Regions from separate parts of the Homo sapiens genome. Here region 1 is linked to region 2. Evidence: promoter capture Hi-C in human tissues and cell types (Jung and others, 2019). All regions are on one chromosome and are shown on one strand. Each heading gives the region's core, a stretch centred on a gene start or on the middle of the fragment in contact. The rest is flanking DNA. Distances are from core to core; before and after follow the strand shown. Region 1 overlaps B4GALT5 (beta-1,4-galactosyltransferase 5). Region 2 holds the start of B4GALT5 (beta-1,4-galactosyltransferase 5).

What was found. The method cuts DNA at HindIII sites, captures the fragments that hold promoters and counts their contacts. A contact is called where the count stands out against the background at its distance.
Region 1: a fragment that was not itself captured here is called in contact with the fragment with the promoter of B4GALT5 in region 2 in 2 of the 25 tissues and cell types used here (bladder and liver).

What each region holds. Positions count from the first base shown.
Region 1 is chr20:49,669,707-49,672,609 of GRCh38, reverse strand. The region is part of intron 1 of B4GALT5 (beta-1,4-galactosyltransferase 5); the gene reads left to right. Among named protein-coding and RNA genes, the nearest start is that of B4GALT5, 43 kb to the left of the region's middle. The HindIII fragment of the contact is 5,680 bases long and covers 1-2,903 here.
Region 2 is chr20:49,712,221-49,715,221 of GRCh38, reverse strand. B4GALT5 (beta-1,4-galactosyltransferase 5) reads left to right here and starts at 1,344. Exons shown (of 9, transcript NM_004776.4): 1 at 1,344-1,646. The coding sequence starts at 1,532. RefSeq lists silencers at 1,132-1,461, 1,752-1,871. The HindIII fragment of the contact is 30,885 bases long and covers 1-3,001 here.

The DNA.
Region 1 (2,903 bases), core at 64-2,563, 43 kb after region 2:
TTACTTAGCTAAAGAAAGAAAAGTTTATGTCTGATCAAGTGACAGAGTCTGTCTGTCATAATAGATGACAGAAAAATAATCCAGCATTCTGCATGGCCCAGAGAACCCGTTTCTAGGACTACAAGTTGATATATGCAAAAGACAAGCCATCTGGAGGAGAGGAAGGGTTTCATTACCCACAAGGTGTTAAGGAAAGACTTTGTTTTGCTAAGTGTGTGTGCCTTAGAAGCTAGAAATTTTCAAGTGCTTTCTCTGGCATCTTTTGCCTTTTTATGGAAAGCATGGCTCTGATTTCCTATGTTTGACAGTTTGGGTGTTAATACCAGTTGGAATGCTGCCTTCTTGGAAGCACTTAAATTCCCAACGAGTAGATAACCCATTAGTCTGTTACAAGCTTCCAGGCTAACAATAATGTGATTAAAATATATTATCCCCATAGGACATGAAGAATAATCTTTCCAAAAGAGAATCAGGAGGGAGACCAAAGAACAGTATGTGGAAGAATATGTTTGGATGGTAGGCTAGATAGAGGAAACTTGCTTGATGAAGTTAAAGCTAGAAGCACCAAGAGCTTTAGGATCATTATGAATCATTTGGGGTAGGATAATTTGGGGGTAGAATAACAGTTTGAGATTAGGGGAATTATTAGGGTCTGGAGCAATGAAGAGGGGAGGAATCTCTTACTAAGGCAGAAGGTTGTGTTTTTGTGCTTCCCCCGACCCCATACAAAAATTTATTGATTATTGTTTTAAAAAAAAATGAAAAGAAAAAGACCCTGCCCAAAGGCAGCATTCCTAAAGGGTGCTCATAAAGTAGATGCTGTGTGAAAAGGGGTTCTCAGTAACTTTGGAAACTTTGAAATTTTGGGTCAGTTGATTTAAACAGATTTGGTTACTGCAGTTTTTCACTAGTGGAACAGAGAACCTCCTTATCTTACAGGGTTCTGATGTTCATGGAAATGTTGCATTGTAACAAAGAAAAGACAACCCAGATGACCTGTAATTCTGCCACACAGAGATAAAAAACACTGAACATCTTGATAAGTGATTTCTAAAACTGTTCTAGGCTTATATTTTCCTTTGTGTCTTTAACACAAATGTGATATACTGTATGTAGTATATATACAATGTATATACCGTCTTGAATCAATAGCTTCATCTCTGCTTTTATTACTGCTCCTAGCGTAAATTATTTAGCACAAATGCAGACATAATCTCAGAAAATTATTATTTTTTGAGACAGAGTCTCACTCTGTCACTCAGGCTGGAGTGTAGTGGCATGATTTCAACTCACCACAACCTCTGCTTCCCAAGTTCAAGTGATCCACCTCAGCCTCCTGAGTAGCTGGGGTTACAGGCATGCACCACCACACCCGGTTAATTTTTGTATTTTTTGTAGAGATGGGGTTTCGCCATGTTGACCAGGCTGATCTTGAACTCCTGACCTCAGGTGATCCGCCCACCTTGGCCTCCCAAAGTGCTGGGATTATAGGCATGAGCCACCGTGCCTGGCCTGCACGGTATGATTTTTAAATAGTGAGTACTTCTAAAACAATAATCATTATTTCAGTGATAGCTGAGTTAGTCATGGTCTGATTTTGCCATAATTTTTTTTCCAGACCCTTTTGGTGCATAGATAGGTTGGAGTTTTGCTTTTATAAGTAGCACTGAGATAAACAGTATTGAACACATTTGTTATTTATCCAATTATTTCTTTAGGATGAATACCTGAAAGTAGGAACTACTGGGTTAGAGTATGAACATTTCACTTTGATCTGTATTGCCAACCTCTCTAGAGGTTATATCAATTTGTTTCCATCAACAAGGTGTGGGATACCTGTTCCACCAAAGCCTCTGAATGTTGGTGAGGCTTTGGTAGAACAGGTATCAGTCTTTTGACTCATTTAGACAAGCAGTTTGTAGTGTCAACTTAAAATTTTACGTTACATGTTTGCAAAGGGTTAGAAGAAACTTAGTTGTAGGCAGATAGCAGTTCAGTGTTGAAGAAATTCAACTTTTTGCTATAGAATTGCATTCTTTTAAACCCTCACTCAGTCAGACACCATGATGCATGCCTGTAGTCCCAGCTGCTTGGGAGCTAAGGCATGAAGATCTCTTGAGCTCAGGAATTTGAGACCAGCCTGGGCAACATAGTAAGACCCTGTCTCAAAAAAATAAATCATTACTGTTGTAAAGAACATTGGTAAAACAGAAGGAAAAAAGGTCATCTCACATCACTGTTACTCCCTAACAGCAAAGCAGGTTGGTAAATTTGCCTCAAGTCTGTTTTAGCCTGATACATGTTCTTATTCCTTAGCAATAGTTGTCAAGATATAGCAGAACTTTTTTCATGTTGTTAAAAATGTGATAGTCTATGCTAAATATTATACATAAGGTGTATGGTGATAAGGTTGCATAGTTTTCACTTTTAAAGATGTGTAAGATTCCGTCAAGTTTTGTGTCACAGTTTATGTGCTGTTGTTTTAGTAAGTGAAAGCAAGTTTATTAGAGAAGAAAAGAAACTGGCTACTCCACAGGCAGAGCAGCACTGAGAGCTGCTGGTTGTTGATTTTGAGTTGTTTCCCAAGATTTTGCTTTTAGAAATAATGTAAGTAAAAACTTTGTGCATAGAATAGCCTCATATTTAGGATACTTTGCTAGCTCAGAAGGTATGAGCATTTTTATGGCTATTGTTGAATTTGCAAATAGTTTTCCCAAAGGGTTTATACCAGTCTGCACGAACACCAGCACAGTTGGTGAAGTATCAGTTTCACTATGACCTTTTCTGGCTTATAGCCTTTTTTTTTGTGGTTGCAGAAAAACCAGTATACTTCTACCTTAAAAAAGCAAGGCAACTCCTCCGGCTATCACAGCATCTGTGTGCCAAGCTATAATTCTTTTTTT
Region 2 (3,001 bases), core at 95-2,594:
CACTGCTTCTGGCATTCCAAGACAGTACCCTAGTTTCAGATATGTCTACACAGGGACACTGGCCTCCTCAGTCCAGCTCCTTGAGGCTACTGCTTCTTGCCATAAATTTCTAGGACTGTTCATTGCCTTCTGAGGTCCTTTGAGCTGATGCTGATCTGAAAGCATTTTTTTGGATATGGTCCCATACCCAGGTGATGGGGATAGGATACCGATTTGCCTGCAGGATAAGAATTAGAGGTCATACAGACTGCTGAGACAGTTACAACCTAGAGGTCAAGGGCCTGACATGGGAGACAGGCCAGTTTTGATTTAAGCCCTTACTGCAAGGCTTGGGTGAATTGCCTTTCCATCTAGAAACCTCAGTTTCCTCATTTGTATGATAGTAATAATAACAGCACACATCTCAAGACTGGTGGGGGAATTTCATGGCATGAGTGAAGTCCATGTTTCTCAGCAGAAGTCTAGAGACATTGACAATTGTTATCATTATGCTATTTCTGATACAGTAGGATCCCTGACTACAGCTCCAAGCTCATCCCTATTTCCCCCCCTACTTCACTGGATTTTATCCATGTTGGCCTTGGATTCAACTCGGGGGCAGATCAGCCCTTTTCCTACCTCAGGGCCTTTACACCTGCTGTTCCCCCTGGTATGACTGCTTTTTCCCCAGCTTATTCAAAAAAGCTGGCGCTTTCTCACCCTTTTATATCTCAGTTCGTGTCACTGCTCAGTGAGGCCTTCCTTGACCACTCCAGCCTGCCTGCAATACATCCTCCTGTTTTATCGTATTCATATGTGTTACCAGTACCTGATATTACTAGCTGATTTGTTTCTTTTATCTCTCACATAATGTAAGTTTCAAGTAGACAGAGATTTTTATCGTTTTTTTTCTCTGTAGCATGCCCAGCGCCAACAACTGTGTCTGGCATTCAATAAATAAATGGTGAATTGAATGAATGAATGAATGAATGAATGAGGGTGTATACCAGGCCGAACCCCCAAGCCTTGCAGTCCCCACTCTTCTGCTGCAGTGGGCAACGAGATGAGTCAGACTTTGTAGATGGCCCCTTGGCCCCCGAGATGGGGGACGAGCTAGCGCGGAGCACTTGGGAGACATTCCCCGAAAGCCTGGGCGGTGGCCGCACTGGGAGAGGGTCTGTCGCCATTTGGCGATTACTCCATGCGGGCTGCTGTGGGCGCCGAGCGAGGGTCGGCGGCGAGCGCAAGCGCGCGGGTCTTTTGCGACGGTGCCCGGCGGCACTGGCCCCGCCTCCCGCGCGTGCGCCCCGCCTCCGCCCCCGCCGCTGCGCCCGCTCGGGGCCGCTCTGGCCCCCGCCCGCTTCATGTGGCCCGGCCCGCGACGGCCGGCGGCTGGGAGCGGCGAGGCGGCGGCGGCGGCGAGTGGCGGCCCGCGAGGCCCGGGAGGCGGTGGCCGAGGCCCAGGCGGTGGCGGCGGCGGCCCAGGAGGCGGCGGACGGGGAGCTGCGGGAGCAGGCCCGGCCTGGCTCTCTAGCGGCCGCCTGGCTGCAGCATGCGCGCCCGCCGGGGGCTGCTGCGGCTGCCGCGCCGCTCGCTGCTCGCCGCGCTCTTCTTCTTTTCTCTCTCGTCCTCGCTGCTGTACTTCGTCTATGTGGCGCCCGGCATAGGTAGGAAGGGGGCTTGGGACCGCGGCGGCTGCCGCTCTGGCCTTGAGGGACCCGGGGAATCCCCGCCCCTCCCTAAGGGGCCCCGGCCGGGAGGCGGCCCTGAGCCTGGTCCTCCGAAGACTCCGGAGTCCTGGCCCGGCTCTCGGGGACGCCAGGACATTCCTGCCCTCCGCACCCCAACAGGCGCCCGGGATCCCTCTCCCGCGCCAGCCTCCGGCCCACCCCGCCCCTCCTAACGCCACCCTCGCGAACCCGACTGTACCTTCACGCCCGCCCCTTGCTCCGGAACCCCCTTCCCGCTCTTGCCTCGCTGGAACTCCCACTTCCCGCTCCTCTGCTCGAGAACTCCCGCTTCCCCTTCCCTTCCCCGGGGTCTCCTCGAACCCCCATTCCCGGCATTCCCCGCACCCCAGTCCCCCGCGGCGCGCCCGCTCTTCGCCGAGCCCATGTGCCCGGGTCCCAGGCCGCCCCACCTTCTAGCTCCCATCCATCCTCCCCCACTCCCCATGACTCCATCGTTTCCTGCTCCCGTGAGCCCCCTCCCTCCCCTTTCTTCCTCTACTTCCCCTATTACATCCACCTCCAGGTCCTCCTCCCTAACTCACGTTCACCTCTTCAGTGGCCTGATCTCTCTGCCTGCCGGTGGCACCCCCCTTCCCCTTACAGAGGTCCACCCCCATTCAATCTCCTGCTAATCCCCTGAGCGTCCCATGCCTCTTCCCCATCTCCCCCCCCCCCACCTCGCGTACCCACAAGGGCACATCCTTGTCACCTTTGCCCCCAGCCCCCCAGACTTTCAGCCACAGCTTCTTTCTCAACTGAAGACCTGGGGAAGGGGTGCTGTCTGTGTTCTTTCTTCCACTTCTGCCCTCTCCTAGCCTTGAGGGTAGATGGTGTGGTTCTTCAGTATTGGATAGTGCCTGCTCTGCGGACAAAGGAGAAGTTTAAATTGTCCGTAGAGAAGGGGATATGATTGGGGCCTTTGGGAAATGGTACCAGGTGAGAAGGGGGAGCATGGAGGAAAGATGTAATGGGTACTCCTTCTTTTCAAAGTCTTATCCTTTAAAGGAAAGGCGGTCTCTGGAGAAACTGACCCTCCCACCCCTCCCCCGCCTGCCCCAAGCATAGTCTTTTATAAGACCACAGGGCACCAGTTAGGACAGGAAGAGATCAGAAGGAAAGACAGCATGAAGGTTAAGAGCGGAGGACACAGAGGTCAGACTTGGATTCCAATCTCTGCCCTGTATGACCTTGGGCAGGTTACTAAGCCTTTGCATTTCTCCTCTGTAAAATGGGAATGTGAGTCCCAATCTCATACAGTGTTAAGGATGGAAGTAGATACATGTTCTTTAAAA